Linked DNA regions of Homo sapiens: regions 2, 3, 4, 5 and 6 are each linked to region 1. The links are contacts of gene promoters, found by promoter capture Hi-C in human tissues and cell types (Jung and others, 2019). All regions are on one chromosome and are shown on one strand. The core of a region is centred on a gene start or on the middle of the fragment in contact, and the rest is flanking DNA. Distances in the headings are between cores, read along the strand shown. Region 1 holds the start of RHBDF2 (rhomboid 5 homolog 2). Region 2 overlaps UBALD2 (UBA like domain containing 2). Region 3 has its middle 3.3 kb from the start of MXRA7. Region 4 overlaps PRPSAP1 (phosphoribosyl pyrophosphate synthetase associated protein 1). Region 5 has its middle 9.0 kb from the start of ST6GALNAC1. Region 6 overlaps ST6GALNAC1 (ST6 N-acetylgalactosaminide alpha-2,6-sialyltransferase 1).

Region 1 (3,268 bases), core at 512-3,011:
TCAGTACATGGATAGCTGCCTCGTTGCTTTTAACAGCTGTGTGACATTATCACAAGTTATACCCCTGGCCTATTTAACATTCTTCCCTCTCTGGCCTCACAGGTGCGTGTTGCTGCAGCCAAGGCTGTAATCAGCCTCCCTGCACCTATGTGGCCGGGCAGCACGCCATGTTTGCATGGGACAAATCCCTGACACCAGCTTAAGCACCACCATGAATCCCTCCCCTCCTGGGGACTCCTGCAGAGCTTCCAGTAGAGCTCCAGGAGAGAGAACCCAGCTCAGGCATTTGCAGCAGTGTTTGTTAGAGTCTAAAGTCAGATCATGACCGAGTTTAAACCCCAGCTGCTCCCCTCACATCTCCCTCTGCCTCAGTTTTCTCATCCCTAAAATGGGGATGATCATAATGGTACCCACTTCATAGACCTGTACTGCGGATTATACAGACTAAAGCACTTTGGAATGGCTAGCTGCTCTCACCCTTCCTGTTACAGTATTGAGTTCCAACGTCTCCCTGTAGAATGCTGGCACTTCGTGGGCAGGCCCTGGTTTTGTTCCTCTCTGCACATAACCCCAGGATGTGCTGGTTGCACAATAAATGGTCCCTTACATTTGTTACTAGGAGCAACCCCCACCCCAGCTTTGGCCCACTCCCCCTCCTTCCAGCCTGTGCCCTCCTCATGGCCCCAGAGCTGGGGAGGAGAGATGCATCTCTCAGGATAATCTCCAGCAGCCAGGTGCTCCCCACCTCCACCCAGGTCAGCAATAAACACCAGAGTCCTTGGGTTGGGGGGCAGGGTGGCTCAGGAGCTCTCTAAGGGCCAGAGGTTTTGCCTTGGCCCTGACAACCCCACCCCCACCCCTCCAAGCCTGAGTCTCTTCAAACTCTGCTCCTCCTGGCCTAGCCAGGCCTCCTGGAGAGGGACGGCGAGATGATAAGCGCTGGGGCTGAGAACGGGGCATCCAGACCTTGGAGTTCGGTCCTAGCTGCCCTGGCCAAGGTTTTGTTTGTCTAGTCCCAAGAGGCAGGCCCTTGGAGTCCAGGGAAGAGAGAAGGAACCACCTGGGCAGACAGACCCAAGCCAAGGGGCCAGGTGTCGCCAGCGTCCCCAATCTCCAGTCTGGCTCTGGCCCGCATGGCAGCTGGAAGGGCCAGAGCTGGGTGGGTTCTGTCAATGCTTCTACGGGGTGTGTAGGGGGTTGGCAGGAGTCACAAATGTTGGCCTTAGCTGCAGGGCAAATGCAGATAGGACCTCCACGGAGTGCCTGTTCCCAACCCAAGGGCACAGCAGAGCTAGGAGAGAGGCCTCAGGGTCCAGGAGGGAGAGGAGGTGTTCAGGCCCAGCTTCCCGGAGAGAGTGTGACTACAGACTAAAAGGGTCAAGGGAACAGGCCCACTTGGCCTGAGGATGAGGGCGCTGGAAGAAGGGGATGGGAGATTGGGTGCTTTTTCTTGATGGGGAGGGGCGACTTGAAGACGGCAATCAAGACCTAGATGACGTGTTTGGTCTGGGGTGGAGTGAGGACGCCAAGAGGGAAAGGACGGCGCCCTGAAGAGACCAGCTCAGGCGAAAACAGGGCTCTGCCCAGGCGGGGACCCAGCTGGGTGGAGGGCGGAGGCAGGAACCCAGGAAGCCGACTGAGCAAAGACTGCGTCCAGGCCCCGCCCCCATGAGCCCGGCCACGCCCCCTGGAGCCCAGCCCCGCCTCCCGGCCGCCCGCGCGCAGGTAGGGAAGAGGCGGAGCGCCGCCGCCCCGCCCCCGAGGAGCCACCGCCCAGCCGCTCGCAGGCGCCGCACGGAGTTGCGTCCCGGGGACTTGGGGCCGCAGGGAGGTGAGCGCGGGGCGACGAGCGGGGCAGGACTCACGGCCGCCCAGCCGCAGGCGCCGGAAGGGTCCCGAGGTTGTGCCCGAGCCTGCCCTGGAGCGGTGGTGCGCGGCCAGGAAGGGTGCCCAGTGCCCGGTGCCCGCCCTGCGGAGCGCCTGGGTCCCACGTGGGCTCGGCTGGAGGCCCGGGCTGGCTCAGACGGCGCCGGCGGGGCCGCTGGACCCGGTCTGCTGGCCCCTAGGGCTCGGCTCGGACAGGACGCCTAAGGGGTCCCTGGGCGACGGGGCGCCAGATGTAGGGGCAAGACGATTGGGCAGAGATTTAAACCTCCGGAGGAAGAGAGGAGACTGCGCAGGGCAGTCCCGCCTGCGTCCCAGAAGTGCCTGCAGTTCAGACCCTTCTCTCCCCTCCACTTTCTCCCGGGTGAGCACCGGGCGGACCGGGGCCGAAGTTTGTTGGTTGAGCCAGCCAAGGTGGAAACAGGTGCGGGGGTGGGGATGAGGGACTCACACAGCAGGGCTGGACCGGAGCTCAGAAATTGGACCCAGGAGTCCTGACTTCTGGATGGAGGGGCTGGGGAAGGTTGGCCCTGGGCTTGCCTTTTACCTGTTTGGCCCCTCGGATGTTCCCCCAGGGCATTGGGATAGAGACGGATAAGTTCCCTAGGGTACAGACCCCGCCCCACTCCCACGCCAGGGCGCAAAGGAAGCCTAGGTTTTGGCCCTGCCCCATTCCATGAAAGATTAACGGAGGGGGCTCTAGGGTTGGAGCTACTGAGAGGGTGGCAGCGGGTGTGTCTGAGGAGCAGAAGGCGGTGGGGAGCTGACCCCACTTGGGGAGAGGCTGCTGTTGCCTGGGCGGCTGGCATCAGGCCCCCAGTGTGTGCCATTTGCTGGTAATATAATGAGACCAGCATCTGCCTTATTCGACCCTCACTGTCCGTAGGGCAGGCAGTGGAAAGGGAGGCGTGTTTTAGAGCTGTGGTTCTCAACCAGGGGCGACTTTGCCTGCCATGGGATATTTGGCAATGTTGGAGTCATTTTGGGTGTCACACACTTGGGAGGGGAAGTGAGTGTTGTTGTTACTGGCAGGTAGTGGGTAGAGGCCAGGGACGCTACCAGACATCTTCAGGGCACGGAACAGCCCACATAACGAGGAATTATCCAGCCCAAGGTGTTGGGCTGTGCTGAGGCTGAGAAACCCTGCGCAGCAGCTGGTCCATCAGGTTCCTTCTCAATGATGCTCCCTCACTGGGGAAACTACCTCAGTTTTCCAGAGTGGTTAGGGGAGGAACTTGGAATAAACCTGAATGAGATGAGGGGTAAGGCAGTGTGAGGGCACTTATTCCCCTCACAAGAGTCTTCCTTTGGTGCCATGAGACACCGCCTTTCCCAATCTCCACTGGCCCTGCAGGAAGCTGGTCTAGGTGCTGTGGGGGAGAGG
Region 2 (3,268 bases), core at 111-2,610, 230 kb after region 1:
GGAAGGTGGTGGGGGAGGAGGGCGGGATCCAGGGCGCCTGGTGGCTGGGCGGGGACGAGGCCCAGAAGGGGCTGAAGTTTGCAGGTGGGGAGCAGGCTGCGGCTGTCATGGGGCTGTTGCTGCTCTGCAGGCCCTCGGAGGCGCGGAGCTTGGAGAACATGGCCAGCGCATCGGGGAAGTTGGGCGGCGTGGCAGGGGTGTTGCTGGGAGTGCACATCTGCGGGAGAGAACACGGGTGTGGGGAGGCTGCCTCGGGGGTCCCCGAGCCACTGGATGGGGCTTACCCAGGCCAGCCGCTCCTTTACTCCCATTTTTCAGCTTCATTCATTTTCGCACAAGCAGCTTCCACAGGACAAAAGTGCCCTCTCCCCGAGGCAATACAAACAGAAAACAAGGACAAAACCCAAGAACCTTATCAAAACCAACGGGGTTTCATGAGGCCTGGAAATGACACCCCGAGGAGCATTCAAAGTAAATGGTTAATTGCACCCAGGAGCTAAGGTGTCAGATTAAAGTGAAAGGGCAAGGGGGCAGCCCAGGACACCACTGTTCCGCACCTTCCCTGGGCAGGGAGACCAGCTGACTGCCCCACCAGCCACCCTCAGATGCTCCCAGGCTGCTAGGCAAGGGAGAGCGGCCAGCGGGGAGGCTCTCCCTCCTGTGCCAACCCTGGAAAAGTTAAGCCACCTTGGTGGATGGGTTCACACCACACTAAGGGTGACAGCCACCAGGCCTTGAAGGCTTTGCCTCCCTTAACAATGACACTTAGTGGCTTCAATTATCCTCTCTTTATGACAAATGAGGAAACTGAGGCCCAGAAGTCAAGTCACTTGCCCGAAAATGCACCCACAGCAGAGGGCAAGTTGAGAAGACGGACCTCCCCAGCTCCCAAGTCTGCAGGCCCAAGCTCTTAACATCTACTGGGCCACGCTGCACAGAGTCAAGAGCCCCTTTATATCTGGGCCCCTTGAGGACACAAACCAGGGATTTCAATGTCCTGTGTCTGTAGCCTCAGGCCACAAACACAGCTGGCCTGCCCTTGCCTGCAGGCTGGCAGTTTCTCAGTCTGTCCAGCCCCTCAGTCCTCTTCCTGGGGGTAGCTACAGTCCCCCATCTGCTGTCTTCTGTCACTACCCTGGGGGCAGGGGCTGGAGTGCCATCCAGGAGCACCTCGTCAGCAGCATGGGCAAGAGGCAACACAGAGAACAAGACCACACAAAACTGGCTGGGACCTCAAAGCTGCTTTCTCCCTTTCCCAGGAAGCCACAGGAGTCCTTCTTTGAATTTCTCCTAATTTTAGCAACACTGGCCCCTCCCCCAGGCGCAGGAGTTGGGGGAACGACTTGAGGGCTCTTCACCTTGAAAGAGGGAGCTTTGGCAGGGCGCAGTGGCTCACGTCTGTAATCCCAGCACTTTGGGAGGCCGAGGCGGGTGGATCACCTGAGGTTAGGAGTTCGAGACCAGCCTGACCAACATGGTGAAACCCTGTCTCTATTAAAAAATACAAAAATTAGCTGGGTGTGGTGATGGGCGTCTATAATCCCAGCTACTTGGGAGGTTGAGGCCGGAGAATCACTTGAACCCGGGAGGTGGAGGTTGTAGTGAGCTGAGATCACGTCACTGCACTCCAGCCTAGGTGGCAGAGCAAAACTCCGTCTCAAAAAAAAAAAAAAAAAAAACAGAGGGAGCTTTCACAGCTAGAAACCGGAGGTTGTGTAGGGGGTGTGTAACATACATGGAATGGGGACACTAGCACACCCTGTCCATTGAGCCCCACACCATGTCAGCACCCAGGGCACCAAGGGAGCTCTGACCCTTGCCTTTCTAGGGGTCCTCAGGGGGAGGCCAAAGGACCCAATGCAGAGGCCTGGCCCCACCCAGACCTTTCCCCTCCTCCCTCCACTACTCCCTGCCCCCCCCCCACCCTCTGGGGATGACTTCTCGGCAGCAGGAAACAATGAATGAAGGGTGGGGGTGGAGGCCAATTGCATCACAGCATCGTGACCGACTTCCCCAGTTCCCCGCCAGCCAGCGAGGCCTGTCTCCTCAAACAGCCGCCAGAGAACAGCAGGGATGATGGCTGGCAGGCCTGTGGTGGCCTGCCTGTGTAAGCTTGGGCAAGTTCCTGAACCTCTCTGGAGCTTCTCTCTGCTTTTGTAAAATGAGGGTTTTGAACCAGATATGCCCTCTCGGCCAGTTCTCAAGAAAACCCATTGTCCCCTGTACCTTTGTCCTCCCACTTCAAGTCTGTAGTGCCTTTCTCCACTTCCAACTGGGAAGCCCTCCTTATCAACTGGGAAGCTTCCAACTATGGGAATCTACAGTAATGTACGGGACAACCATTTATCAGTTACTCATGACTTCTGGTTTTGCCATTTTGCTGTTACTGGTCTCTAGTGTTTCGTTTTTTGATCTTTTTCCTTTGACTTACTTTGTCCAAAATAAATTGCCAGGCCGGGTGCAGTGGCTCACGCCTGTAATCCCTGAACTTTGGGAGGCCGAGGCAGGCGGACCACCTGAGGTTGGGAGTTCGAGACCAGCCTGATCAACATGGAGAAACCCCGTCTCTACTAAAAATACAAAATTAGCCAGGTGTGGGATTACAGGTGGCACGTGCCTGTAATCCCATGAGGCAGGAGAATCGTTTGAACCCAGGAGGTGAAGGTTGCGGTGAGCCGAGATCACACCATTGCACTCCGCCTAGGCAATAAGAGTGAAACTCTGTCTCAAAAAAAAAAAAAAAGAAAAGAAATTGCCAGCTGGGTGCAGTGGCTCACACCTATAATCCCAGCACTTCGGGAGGCTGAGGCGGAAGGATAGCTTGAGGCCAGGAGTTCAAGACCAGCTTGGGCCACATAGAGACTCCCCCTGCCCTGGCCTTTCTCAAAAATAAAATTAGAAAAAAAAAAAAAAAAAAAAAGAAACCATGAACTTTTTGAGAGCAGGGATGGTGTCCTCCACTGTGCTGCTAAGGCACTCAGACTTGGGCACTGATGGACACACTGGTTATGTGTGTTACAAAACCTGCTGCCTTCCTTGAGGGAAGCTTCAAAAGAGACTTAGCATCTCCTTGGGATTTGCAGAGGAGGGGCAATAGGAACTAAACAGGATGCCAGACCAGCTCTTCCTGGGGAGCCTCCCTGTTCTCAGCCCCTCAGAATGGCTGTAGTATCTGGAAGTTCTGAGTTTTTTGGGATGGCCACAGCTGGTGGAAGGAAATCTCAAGGATCCGGTGACAGGAGATGGCAGGAAGCTTCGAGACTCAAGC
Region 3 (3,268 bases), core at 399-2,898, 210 kb before region 1:
GAGTAAATTCAGAGATGGCACCTGTAGTCTTTGCAGTCTGTTGATACTTCTAAATAACTAACTGGATGACTTTTTGGGGATTGACCAGCAGATGCCATCTCTTGCCCTCTTGATTCACCTGCTTGCCTTAATTTGTCCCTAAATTCAACTAAACTTCAATAAGAGGGGTTGTCAAGGCCATGGGGCGCACTTGGAAGCACTGCCTGGGCTGGAGCGTTGGAGGCATTGGCAGGCAGGTGGGAAGGAGCTCTCACTGCAGTGTTCACAGGCAGGGAGGCTGTGTGTGGATGTGTTAGAATTGTGTGCTGTTGCCTCTCAAAATATCCACTAGAAACAGGTGTAACCAGGAAAATACAGGTCTCTGCTCACTGTTATTAACAGACTGTCATTTCCTGACATTGGGTCATGTGGCTTTACTCTAGGAGGCTGGTTCTCTATTTTTGTCTTAGTTCAATTTTCTGCATCCTCAAATGCCAACCCCAGTATGTGGCTGGGTAGGTAGAACTGTGCTGCCTGCCTGCCATGGGGGCTGCTCTCCCTCCTTACCCCCACGCCCACAGCCCCCTTGGTTCTGTGGTGGGCACAGGATGTGTTTGGGTGTGAGTAAAGTCAAACTCTGAATGTATAATCTCTTGGTAGTAATATCTGAGTGGTGTTGCTACTCCTGCTTTTTAAAAAGACTTTTCTTGCCATCTATAAAAAGCTTTTTTCTTTTTCCCAGCATTGCTCCTGTGCTGCCACGCTTGCCCTTTTTCCTTACCTTCCTTTCAGTTTTCTATCAACAACTCCTCTAAACTTCAGTTTAAAATAAAAAACAGCCCAAAAAGGCTCTTTGCCACCAGGGGGCGTGGTAGGACACGTTGCCAGTGGTCTGGATAGGGGAGCAGAAATTTTGAATTTTAAAAATTAGCCACCAAGGCCAGGTGCAGTGGCTCACACCTGTAATCCCAGCACTTTGGGAAGCTGAGGCAGGGGGATTGCTTGAGTCCAGGAGTTCAAGACCAGTCTGGGCAACATAGTGAGATCCCATCTCTCAAAAAAATAATAATCTAGAAAATAAAGATTAGCCACCCAGTTTTCTTTCTCCAGATGCTAAAGTTGATTCCTGTTTGATAACAGTATTCCAGAAATGAGGGGAATAACATATCTGATAGGCCCAAGTCAGCTCTGGATAGTACAGTGTCTGGATAGTACAGATTCTGTGCTCCTGGGACATGCTTTGTTTATTCCTGCCAGGCCAGGGATTCAGCAGCCCTATTCCCCAACCCCCGTTACTGTCTCTGTGGGCTAGCCAGGCTGTCCGTTATGTAAGCACAACAGGGGCAAGGTGGGGAAACCGTGTGTGGAAAAGGAGTGGAGTGGTGGCGGGTGGCCAAGGTAGACTAGGAAGAGTGGGTACCCAGAGACCACTTGTTCAGAAGTTAACTCCTCTTCCCATCTGGCGTGAGCTACTCCATTGAATGGTGCCAACAACAGTAAAGTGAAGGAGATAATGTTAGATTATTTTCAGGGATGATTCTCCAAGATGACAGCAGATCTTAAAACCAAAGAGCTGGGTCCTGGAAGAAGGGATCTTGGATTATTAACTTCTGATGGAAGGACCAGAGTGGGAGAGAGAAGAGTTGGGGACCTAGAACATCAGGAGGACCCTGGGTCTTTGGGGATGAGGCTTCACCATCAGCTGGAAGAATCCATGCTTCACACACATGCCTCTGCCATTAGTGGTACTGGGATGTTTAGGGTGACATCCTTGAGGGGAGAGCCACTGAAAAGAGGGACATTCACATTTTGCTGTATTCTTGCAGCTGTCCGTGTCTTAATAATTCAAGCGTTCAATAGGTGTTTGAGGGCCAGGCACTGCTCTTGAGGTGCTGGAGATAACGGTGACAAGCCCAGGTCCCTGACAAGCTCCACAAGCTTAATGGACAGTGAATGTGCGGCTGTTGCGGCTGTTCACAGGGCCGCTGGTGAGGGCAGGTAGAAGAAAGTGCAGACCTTCTTAAATGCAGGTGTAACGGATCTACATGAAAGAGCATAATTAACACCAATGTATACTTAAGGTAGTAACAGCTTCTTCATAAAGTAGCAAAACTAAGGATCTGTGGGAAGGTTGCTGGTGCAAATGCTTTATAAGCTTACTAGAGACTGAGCCTTGGATTTAGGACTTTAGACGAGTATAGGATGGAACAAAATTTTTGCAGTAAATGTAAAAAATGCTGTGTAGGAGGAAGGCGTATAAGGATGCCCCAGCTGTAGGTTCTTTAGATTGTCTGTAGTATTTCCACGAGTAAGTTGTTTTTGATGTGTGTACTGGTATTGCTGGTAGATTTGAAGTGGAGTCTGGCGGCTTCTTCCACACTCCCCTCCCACTAGCTTGTGTCAAGATGTGACATCCTATGCAGCAAAACTAGGTGAGCTTGCACCCCCAGGCGGTGGCTCTCAACTTTGTCTCATTGTTCAGAAATTTCGGCCAGGCGCCGTAGCTCACCCCTGTAATCCCAGCACTTTGGGAGGCCATGGCAGGTGGATCACTTGAGGTCAGGAGTTCAAGACCAGCCTGGCCAACACGGTGAAACCCCGTCTCTACTAAAAATACAAAAATTAGCCAGGTGTGGTGGCACATGCCTGTAGTCCCAGCTACTTGGTCAACTCAGGCAGGAGAATCACTTGAACCCAGGAGGCAGAGGTTGCAGTGAGCTGAGATCAAGCCACTCCAGCCTGGGTGACAGACCGAGACTCTGTCTTTAAAAAAAAAGAAATGTCATCTAAGCCCCAGTGAACCTCCTGGGAGGAGAGCTAGCCCTGGCCAGCTGTCTCCAAAGTGACTGGATGCTACAGAAGAACTGGGACTGTCTTCTGCACACTCGTGCCTCCTGGAGTTGTCAGAACACTGAGCAGTCTCCTAGTTCTGCGTCCGTCTAGCCATGGGGTCTGCCATGAAAGCCTGTGGATCTGCTATTGGGTTGGTATTTTAAACTTTCACTTGGGTGAAACTTGTTCATCATTTTAAATAAAGCAACATGATTTGGAGTTGTGTTTTTGGCATTGTTTTGTCCTTATTTTCTTTCTTACTCATTTGAAAGTCAACAATGTACTTTGTCAGCAGAACAGGACTTTAAAAAAATGTATTTACACTTTAAAACAATGGGATGGAGCACAAAATTAAGGCCCTGGGCCAGGAGCATTGATGCACACCTGTAATCCCAGCTGCCCAAGAGGCTAAGGCAGGAGGATCACTTGAGCCCAGGATGTCGAGGCTGCAGAAAGC
Region 4 (3,268 bases), core at 553-3,052, 170 kb after region 1:
CTCTTCAGTACTCTTGATTATAAGAGTATCTCTTCATTGTTTTTCTATAAGAATACTTGAAACATTCTTTGTTACATACAGAAATTATTCTAAGCTTCAATATCTTTGTGTTATATGAGTTTCTTTTCTTCTAATATGTATATTACTTTGCGTTTGTGTTCTTGCTACTTTTTGCCTTCGCTACAGTTCTTTATCCTTTCTTTTAAGATTCTGTAATCAAGGCCTTACTGTTTTTTCCATCTCTTCGGTATTAATTCCATATTCATATTTTTGCTTCTGCCACATTATTCTTTTCTCAATTTTCTGGACCAAGCCAAAAGTCAATAATTCCCACTTTCTTAGCTTTAGTTCTTTGTCCATGTGGAAGGTTGTAGCCTTCTCTACATTAAGGCTTTATTAAGGTTAACAATCAAGCCTGTGACTGCAGTGCTTAATCACAGTACCCCGTCTTCAGTCTGCTGGTAGGAAGCAGGAGTTGAGCATCTAGTTTAGGTCCACTGTAGCCATTTACCTGTAGGGGTGAACTTTGTAATTTTTTGTTTTAAAATTTCAGGTTTAACTCACATTATCACTATGGATCTTCATCAAAAGGAAATACAAGGCTTTTTCAGCTTTCCTGTGGACAACCTTAGAGCCTCACCTTTCCTGCTTCAGTATATCCAGGAAGAAGTGAGGAACCACCAGCAAACACCCCATTGTCCTCAAAAGAGATCTTATTTAGTTTTTCTCTGGTATCAGATTTCGTTACTGGAAGGCACATCAAATGAGCTCTCCCTTAAGTCACAATGCCTGAGGCAGCAGACAGGGTCAGCTTTAGTCGTGGACGATCATAGCTTTAAAAGACACTAAAAACAGATTTTTTTTCTACGTATCTTTAGCAATTTGCTTATGTTTTCTAAAATGAATGTTTTAAGAATTATTTTTAAAAAATTCTTGACGTAGGAGTGCTTTTTCCAGTGATGTTAATTGATAAATATTGAAAAATCTAAAACTTGTGACTAAAATTCTAGCATATTTGATGACTAGTTTGGATCATTATAAGAGGGAAAACTTGAATACCAGCATCCAGGTGTTATTTTCTGATAACTTTTCAGTATTTTCTATTTTTCCTTCAAATCTAGATTCCAAATTACAGAAATGCAGTCATTGTAGCTAAGTCTCCTGATGCTGCAAAGAGGTAAGTAAGCTAGACATGGGTCCTGATCCCTCCTGAGTGCTCCCGAAGTCAGAATGAGCTGCTTTGGAATCCAGAGGCTGTCACTCGTGGCCTTTGAAAGCCCACTGGCTCTCATGTTAACCCCTCCATCGTTGTCATGTCCCATGCCACACACAGCTTTATCTCCAGCCTCCAGACAGCACACATGATCGCTGAGTTGCTCAGCTTTCCTCTGGGAAAACAAAGTTCCTTCAAGTTCTCAGAGAAAGGAAAGCAATGAGGCTATGAGCATTTTTCAAGCAATGGTTTTTTTTTTTGTTTTTTTTTTGAAATGGAGTTTCATTCTGTCACCTAGGCTGGAGTGCAATGGCGCGATCTCGGCTCACTGCAACCTCCGCCTCCTGGGTTCAAGCAGCTCTCCTGCCTCAGCCTCCCCAGTAGCTGGGATTACAGGCGCCTGTCACCACTCCTGGCTAGTTTTTTGTATTTTTAGTAGAGATGGGGTTTCACCATGTTCATCAGACTAGTCTTGAACTCCTGACCTCAAGTGATCTGTCTGCCTTGGTCTCCCAAAGTGCTGGGTTTACAGGCGTAAGCCACTGTGCCCGGCCCAGGCAATGGTTTTTAACGTTGTTCTTTCTTCTGAAGATGACTATCAGAATATTGGACAAAGGATAGAATCAAAATTATCTAGAATCAGGGCCAGGCGGGGTGGCTCACGCCTGTAATTCCAGCACTTTGGGAGGCCAAAGCGGGAGATCGCTTGAGCCCAGGGGTTCAAGACCAGCCTGGGCAACATAGACCCCGTCTCTACAAAATACAAAAAATAGCCAGTTGTGGCAACACATGCCTGTGGTCCCCGCTACTCGGGAGGTTGAGGTGGGAGGATCACCTGAGCCTCAGGAGGTTGAGGCTGCAGTGAGCCATGTTGACGCCACTGCACTCCAGCCTGGGTGACAGTGAGACCTTGTCTCAAAAAAAAAAAAAAATGTCTAGAATCAGATACAATCCCAAACCCTAACTCACGTGCCCTTTGAGTCATTTACATGCTGGCCTGGGCCTCACATTCTCATTTATATAAATAATGCCTTTGTATGTCCCTGAAACGTTAAATATTTTCATTTTATGGTTAAAAAATGATGCCGTAGTGATGCGTGGGATTTCTTCCTGTCAGTTTCACCATTTCCCTTTGTCCTTCTAGGGCCCAGTCCTATGCGGAGAGACTGCGTCTGGGTTTGGCCGTCATTCACGGGGAAGCTCAGTGCACGGAACTGGACATGGACGATGGTCGTCACTCCCCGCCTATGGTCAAAAATGCTACTGTGCACCCAGGCCTGGAGTTGCCATGTAAGATGAGCTCTGTGTTTTTATTTTATTTGTAAATTGAAGAAAGTTTTTTTTTGTTGGTTTTGTTGGTTTTGTTGTTGTTGTTTTGTTTTGTTTTGTTTTGTTTTTGAGATGGAGTCTCACTCTGTCACCCAGGCTAGAGTGCAGTGGCGTGATCTTGGCTGACTGCAACCTCTGCCTCCTGGGTTCAAGCAATTCTCCTGCCTCAGCCTCGTGAGTGGCAAAGATTACAGGTGTGTGCCACCACGCCCAGCTAATTTTTGTATTTTTAGTAGAGACAGGGTTTCACCATGTTGGCCAGGCTGGTCTCAAACTCCAGACCTCGTGATCTGCTCCAGACCTGGTGATCTGCTCGCCTCAGCCTCCCAGAGTGCTGGGATTACAGGCATGAGCCACTGCACCTGGCCCTGAAGAAAGTTTTAAGTAGTATGAATGGCTAGGAGTTATCGACTATGTAGATATATGCTGTCTTGTTGTTTTTTAATAATGGAATGGTATTTGCTATCCTCCGCCTTTTTTTTTTTTTTTTTGAGAAAGGATCTCCCCCTGTTGCTCTGTACAGTGGCACAGTCATGGCTCACTGCAGCCTTGACCGGGGCGCAAGTGATTCTCCCACCTCCGCCTCCTGGGTAGCTGGGACTGTAGGGGTACACTACCATGCCTGGATAGTTTTCTGTTCCTTTTTTTTTCTTTTTGTATGGAGACGGGGCTCCCTGCATTGCCCAGGCTGGTTTTGAACTTCTTTGCTCAAACAATCCTCCTGTC
Region 5 (3,268 bases), core at 440-2,939, 150 kb before region 1:
AGGCTGGAGTGCGATGGCACGATCTCAGCTCACTGCAACCTCTGCCACCCGGTTTCAAGCAATTCTCCTGCCTCAGCCTCCCAAGTTGCTGAGATTACAGGTGCCTGCTACCATGCCCGGCTACTTTTTTTTTTTTTTTTTGAGACAGAGTTTTGCTCTTGTTGCCCAGGCTGGAGTGCAATGGCGCAATCTCGGCTCACCGCAACCTCCGCCTCCTGGGTTTAAGCAATTCTCCTGCCTCAGCCTCCCAAGTAGATGGGATTACAGGCCTGCGCCACCACGTCCAGCTAATTTTGTATTTTTAGTAGAGATGGGGTTTCACCATGTTGGCCAGGCTGGTCTTGAACTCCTGACCTCAGGTGATCTGCCCACCTCGGCCTCCCAAAGTGCTGGAATTACAGGCGTGAGCTACCATGACCGGCCACATTTTCCCACTTGTATTGATTGTCCAGTTCCTGATTCTGGAGGTACTCCCAAATCAGTGCAATATTTGTCACAGTTCTAAAGAATATTTTGCGGCTATGCGTGGTAGCTCACACTCGTAATCCCAGCACTTTGGGACGCCAAGGCATGAGGACTGTTTGAGCCCAGGAGCTCCAGACAAGCTCGGGAAACATACTGAGACTCTGTCTCTACAAAAATTTAAAAAATTAAATTAAACTAAATTTTGCAATAGTAAAAACCTCATATTGCTCCTAGGTTTGGATAAATTGGATCTAGACATAACACGTGAAATGTGATGCCATTTCTTTATGTTGGCAACTAGATGGACATTGAACACTAAAATTGTGGACAGTTCGTTTTTTATAAAAATGCTTTTACAGGCATACCTTGTTTTATTGCATTTCACTTTACTGTATTTTGCAGATAGATAGTGCAATTTTACAAACTGAAGGTCTATAGCAACCCTCCATCAAGTAAGTCTATCAGCCTCATGTTTCCAACAGCAAGTGCTCACTTCATGTCTGTGTCACATTTTGGTAATTCTTGCGATATTTCAAACTTTTTCTTTCTTTTTCCTTTTTTTCTTTCTTTCTTCCTTTCTTTTTTTTTTTTTTTTTGACAGAGTCTCGCTCTATCGCCCAGGCTGGAGTGCAGTGACGTGATCTCAGCTCGCTGCAACCTCCACCTCCTGGGTTCAAGGGATTCTTCGGCCTCAGCCTCCCCAGTAAATGGAACTACAGGTGCATGCCACCATGCCCGACTAATTTTTATATTTTTAGTAAAGACGGGGGTTTCACCATGTTGGCCAGGCTGGTCTCGAACTCCTGACCTCAAGTGATCTGCCTTGGTCTCCCAAAGTGTTAGGATTACAGGCATGAGCCACTGCACCTGGCCACCAAACATTTCCTTTTTTTTTTTTTTTTGAGATGGAGTCTCACTCTGTTGCCCAGGCTGGAGTGCAGTGGCGCGATCTTGGCTCACTGCAACCTCCGCCTCCCAGATTCAAGTGACTCTCCTGCCTCAGTCTCCTGGGTAGCTGGGATTACAGGTGCATGCCACCATGCCCAGCTAATTTTTTGTATTTTTAGTAGAGATGGGTTTCACGGTGTTAGCCAGGATTGTCGTGATCACCTGACCTCGTGATCCGCCCACCTCAGCCTCCCAAAGTGCTGGGATTACAGGCATGAGTCACCACAACCAGCCATATTTACTGAATATTTTAAGCCCACTGTTGAGATCTACTGCTAAGAAGAAAAGACTCTTTTGAAAATATTACTGCTCATTGACAATGCACCTGGTCACCCAAGAGTTCTGATGAAGATATACAAGGAGATTAATGTTTTCATGCCTGTCAACGCAACGTTTATTCTGCAGCCCATGGAATAAGGAGTAATATTAACTTTCAAGTCTTATTATTCAAGCAATATATTTTATAAGGATATAGCTGCCATAGATAGTGATTTCTCTGATGGATCTAGGCAAAGTAAGTTGAAAACCTTCTGGAAAGGATTCATCATTTTAGAGTCCCTGAAGAACATTCATGATTCATGGGCAGAGGTCAAAATATCAACATAACAGGAGTTTGGAAGAAGTTGGTTCCAACCTTGGTGGATGACTTTGAGGGACTTAAGACTTCAGTAGAAGAAGTCACCACAGATGTGGTGTAAACAGCAAGAGAAGCAGAATTAGAGGTGGAGCCTGAAGATGTGGCTGAGTTGCTGCAATCTCATGATCAAACTTCTACAGATTAGAAGTTGCTTCTTATGCATGCACCAAGAGGGTTTCTTGAGATGGAATCTACTCCTCTGAACACTGTTGAAATGAAAACAGCCCCCACTGGCTGCTCTGAAAAGCCATCTTTGCATTGTTCCTCGTCTGGCTCCTTGGTTCCTCCTCCGTGGACTCCAGCAGCTTTATCACCAGAGTCCTCGAATTCTCGATTCCTTTTTAATCCCCTGTATCAGATCACCGGCATGCCCCATCATGTCAGATGCAGCCATAGACACCAGCTCCGAGATCACCACCAAGGACTTAAAGGAGAAGAAGGAAGTTGTGGAGGAGGCGGAAATGGAAGAGATGCCTCTGCTAATGGGAACACTAATGAGGAAAATTGGGAGCAGGAGGTTGACAATGAGGTAGATGAAGAAGAGGAAGAAGGTGATGGTGAGGAAGAGGATGGAGATGAAGACGAGGAAGCTGAGTTTGCTATGGGCAAGTGAGTAGCTGAAGATGATAAGGATGATGATGTCCATACCAAGAAGCAGAAGATTGATGAGGACAACTAGACAGCAAAAAAGGAAAAATTAAACTAAAAAAAAAAAAAATGACTGTGACCTAGTCACCCTCTACTTCCTGTCTCAGAATCCAAACGTAGTCACCTTCAGGTAGAGAGACCACCCGCAGATGACACGCACTCTCCACCACCCAACTCAAACCATGAGAATTTGCAACAGGGGAGGAAAAAAGAACCAAAACTTCCAAGGCCCTGCTCTTTTTCTTCAAAGTACTGAAAATGCAACCATAAAAAAGAATGAGTTCATGTCCTTTGCAGGGACATGGAGGAAGCTGGAAGTCATCATTCTCAGCAAATTAACACAGGAATAGAAAATCAAACACCGCATGTTCTCACTCATAAGTGGGAGTTGAACAATGAGAACACATGGACACAAGGAGGGGAACATCACACACCTGGGCCTCTTGGGGCAGGGGCAGAGGGTTGGGGAAGGGGAGGGAGAGCATTAGGACAAATACCTAATGCATGCAGGGCTTAAAACCTAGATGACAGGTTGATAGGTGCAGCAAACCACCATGGCACATGTATACC
Region 6 (3,268 bases), core at 466-2,965, 130 kb before region 1:
CAGGGTCATAGGACAATAGTGGAGGGAAGGTCAGCAGATAAACATGTGAACAAAGGTCTCTGGTTTTCCTAGGCAGAGGGCCCTGCGGCCTTCCGCAGTGTTTGTGTCCCTGGGAACTTGAGATTAGGGAGTGGTGATGACTCTTAACGAGCATGCTGCCTTCAAGCATCTGTTTAACAAAGCACATCTTGCACCGCCCTTAATCCATTCAACCCTGAGTGGACACAGCACATGTTTCAGAGAGCACGGGGTTGGGGGTAAGGTCATAGATCAACAGGATCCCAAGGCAGAAGAATTTTTCTTAGTACAGAACAAAATGGAGTCTCCTATGTCTACTTCTTTCTACACAGACACAGTAACAATCTGATCTCTCTTTCTTTTCCCCACATTTCCCCCTTTTCTATTCGACAAAACCGCCATCGTCATCATGGCCCGTTCTCAATGAGCTGTTGGGTACACCTCCCAGATGGGGTGGCGGCCGGGCAGAGGGGCTCCTCACTTCCCAGACGGGGCGGCGGTCAGAGGCGCCCCCGACCTCCCAGACGGGGCGGCGGCTGGGTGGGGGCTACCCCCACCTCCCGGACGGGGAGGCTGGCCGGGCGGGAGGACTTTTCTTTTTTTGAAACGGAGTCTCGTTTTGCCATCCAGGCTGGAGTGCAGTGGCGTGATCTCAGCTCCGTGTGAGACTTTTCTGACACTGTCTGTGGTCCTGTCTTCCTAGGCTCAGGATTCTTTTTTTTTCCAGGGGTCTTGTTAGACCTTTGGAACACTGCCAGGAAGCAGGGTCCTCTGACCTTGGAACTCACAGATCCCTCCTTCTCTCATTTCCGCCACCCACCAGAGTAAAGGATCTTTCCAGGGGAAGGACAATGATGGTAAGAAGTAGTAAAGTCCTTCCCCCTCATAACTTCTCCAAGATTGATCTGTTTCACTACATCTTGAACATGAAACCAAATCTTAACTGCTGGAGGTATGGGGGTGGGGTGGAGAGGGAAACAAATAACATTTCAAAATAGTATATAATTGTATTCAAAAGCATGACAGGCGTAGAAAAGGGATGCGGCTGTTCATGCCCTGAGGTACTAACAGTAGATTCTTTGAAGGGACTGGGATAATAGGAGGTTGCTATCCTTTCATGTTTTAAGGCAGTTTCTGCTTTTTCCGTAATAAGCACACATTGCTTTTATAAAAATAAAAATAATTCATAAAAGTTCACTTCTGAAGACTCAGGAGAAAAAGACTCAGCTTAGGTAACCCCTACATACCAAAGTATCCCCCCGAGCAGAACTGCCTCCCTAGGCTGTCACCACTGCCTCGCACACGTATGACTAATATCATACCGATGACACTTTAAGGCAGCTGCTTATACTCATGTCTGTTTCTCTTATAGACTGTGAGCCTCTTAAAACCAGTGACCATTGCTTTTTTTATCTTTAATCTCTAGCAGATACCTCTGAATGCCTGTCATGTCATGGCTACTCAATGAATATTGCAGAATAAACATTGCATTGTGTTGTCAAGTTCTCGTAGAACTTTCCATAAGATGTCTCATTTAGTTGGTTTGTTGTTGTTATTGTTGTTGTTGTTTTGAGACAGAGTCTCTCTTTGCTGCCCAGACTGGAGTGCAGTGATGCGATCCCTGCTCACTGCAACCTCCACCTCGCAGGCTCAAACAATTCTCCTGCCTCAGCCTCCAGAGTAGCTGGGATTACAGGCGTGCACCACCACACCCAGCCGTTTGTATTTTTAGTAGAGACAGGGTTTCGCCATGTTGGCCAGGCTGGTCTCGAATTCCTGACCTCAAGTGATCCGCCTGCTTCAGCCTCCCAAAGTGCTGGGATTACAGGCGTAGGACATCTAACTTTCAAACCAGCTGACTGGCATTCTGGCCCACAGTGAATTCAGCTAGGCGAAGGGCATCTCTGAGAATGCTGGGGACCTGTCTGTTCAGGGGGAGCTCTGGAAGCTGTATCCAGCCACTGAAGTATGATGAGCAGCAACTGACTCATTTTCCTTCTGTTTTCTCTCGAGTCCCAGAACATAATAACATCCCCACTAGAATCTCCCCACTAAGATTGAGGTGGCTGAAAACCACCACACAGGCTTTGATTTGAGAAAAGAACACTCAGAATAACAAGAGAAAATGGATTTCTGCCATTTTTTTCCAGCATACAAAGATAATTAAGGCAATCATACAGCTTTTAGTCATGGAAGCAGCGTATAGACACATCTAAAGTCAAAGTAAAGTCGTAAAAATAAAGCATTCATTCACTTTTAGAAAACTTTCAGGATTTTCCAAGGAAGATAAACTTTGGAGTTTGTTTTTTGTTTTTGTTTTTTTTGAGACAGAGTCTTGCTGTATCACTCAGGCTGGAGTGCAGTGGTACGATCTCAGCTCACTGCAACCTCTGCCTCCCGAGTTCAAGCGATTCTCCTGCCTCAGCCTCCCAAGTAGCTGGGATTACAGGCATGCACCACCATGCCCAGCTAATTTTTGTATTTTTAATAGAGATGGGGTTTCACCATGTTGGCCAGGCTGGTCTCGAACTCCTGACCTCAGGTGATCCACCCCCCACCCCCACCCCCGGCCTCCCAAAGTGCTGGGATTACAGGCGTGAGGCACCACGCCTGGCCAACTTTAGAGTTGGAAAAGAAAAAGCAGAATGGCTGGTTTCTATCTCACATAAGACAGGAGACCCCGAAGAACTGATCAAATACCAAAAGGAGGCTGGAATAGCCCTCGTGGACACCAAGGGGGTCTTGGGAACTCCAGGCCCAGCTAACAATGTGGGGCACAGGAGGCAGGAGCAGTTCAAGGTAGAGAGCTCCACAGCAGGGAGTGGAGAGGGACACAGGGCAGAGCGAAGTGTTAGTTTGTCCTCCTTTCAAGGAGAAGCAGCATCAAAGCTGTGGGAACCAAACATGTAACCTGGAAGAGGAAAGCTCACCCAGCCAGGGGGCCTGAGATAAAATGAGGGCAAAGTTGATGGTGGGGACTGAGAAAGAGCCCAGGACTTAAGGACGTAAGTAGAGGCGATTCTGTGTGACCAGCCATTCCCACATACCAGGCGCAACTCACCTGCAGCCACTTCCGCTCGCTCTCCATGCCATAGAAGGCGGGAGCCCAGGTGCAAAATTATTTAGCGAATCAAAGGAGTCTTTTCAGCTCTTTTCTTATCCTCCTCCATAAAATAATCTTCTACTCATACTGGCTTTGTTAGTGAGTGACCTTTCCTTGGGGTATTTTTTCAAAATTCAGTTTCAGCCT

What was found. The method cuts DNA at HindIII sites, captures the fragments that hold promoters and counts their contacts. A contact is called where the count stands out against the background at its distance.
Region 2: a contact is called between a fragment that was not itself captured here and the fragment with the promoter of RHBDF2 in region 1, in 1 of the 25 tissues and cell types used here (dorsolateral prefrontal cortex).
Region 3: a contact is called between a fragment that was not itself captured here and the fragment with the promoter of RHBDF2 in region 1, in 4 of the 25 tissues and cell types used here (H1 embryonic stem cells, IMR-90 fibroblasts, mesenchymal stem cells and 1 more).
Region 4: a contact is called between a fragment that was not itself captured here and the fragment with the promoter of RHBDF2 in region 1, in 3 of the 25 tissues and cell types used here (IMR-90 fibroblasts, aorta and mesenchymal stem cells).
Region 5: a fragment that was not itself captured here is called in contact with the fragment with the promoter of RHBDF2 in region 1 in 2 of the 25 tissues and cell types used here (adrenal gland and pancreas).
Region 6: a fragment that was not itself captured here is called in contact with the fragment with the promoter of RHBDF2 in region 1 in 1 of the 25 tissues and cell types used here (lymphoblastoid cells).

Annotation. Positions count from the first base shown.
Region 1 is chr17:76,499,916-76,503,183 of GRCh38, reverse strand. RHBDF2 (rhomboid 5 homolog 2) reads left to right here and starts at 1,761. Exons shown (of 19, transcript NM_001005498.4): 1 at 1,761-1,831. RefSeq lists enhancers at 1,344-1,483, 1,834-2,503 and a silencer at 1,534-2,173. The HindIII fragment of the contact is 32,589 bases long and covers 1-3,268 here.
Region 2 is chr17:76,267,143-76,270,410 of GRCh38, reverse strand. UBALD2 (UBA like domain containing 2) reads right to left here. Exons shown (of 3, transcript NM_182565.4): 3 at 1-217. Among named protein-coding and RNA genes, the nearest start is that of UBALD2, 3.4 kb to the right of the region's middle. RefSeq lists enhancers at 161-350, 2,051-2,280. The HindIII fragment of the contact is 4,243 bases long and covers 1-3,268 here.
Region 3 is chr17:76,712,598-76,715,865 of GRCh38, reverse strand. It overlaps a transcript of JMJD6 not described here. Among named protein-coding and RNA genes, the nearest start is that of MXRA7, 3.3 kb to the right of the region's middle. The HindIII fragment of the contact is 3,371 bases long and covers 1-3,268 here.
Region 4 is chr17:76,327,952-76,331,219 of GRCh38, reverse strand. It overlaps PRPSAP1 (phosphoribosyl pyrophosphate synthetase associated protein 1), which reads left to right. Exons shown (of 10, transcript NM_002766.3): 5 at 554-669; 6 at 1,122-1,177; 7 at 2,358-2,503. Among named protein-coding and RNA genes, the nearest start is that of QRICH2, 21 kb to the right of the region's middle. The HindIII fragment of the contact is 4,882 bases long and covers 1-3,268 here.
Region 5 is chr17:76,651,093-76,654,360 of GRCh38, reverse strand. It overlaps the pseudogene PTMAP13. Among named protein-coding and RNA genes, the nearest start is that of ST6GALNAC1, 9.0 kb to the right of the region's middle. The HindIII fragment of the contact is 8,814 bases long and covers 1-3,268 here.
Region 6 is chr17:76,633,958-76,637,225 of GRCh38, reverse strand. All of the region lies in intron 1 of ST6GALNAC1 (ST6 N-acetylgalactosaminide alpha-2,6-sialyltransferase 1), which reads left to right. Among named protein-coding and RNA genes, the nearest start is that of ST6GALNAC1, 8.2 kb to the left of the region's middle. The HindIII fragment of the contact is 7,403 bases long and covers 1-3,268 here.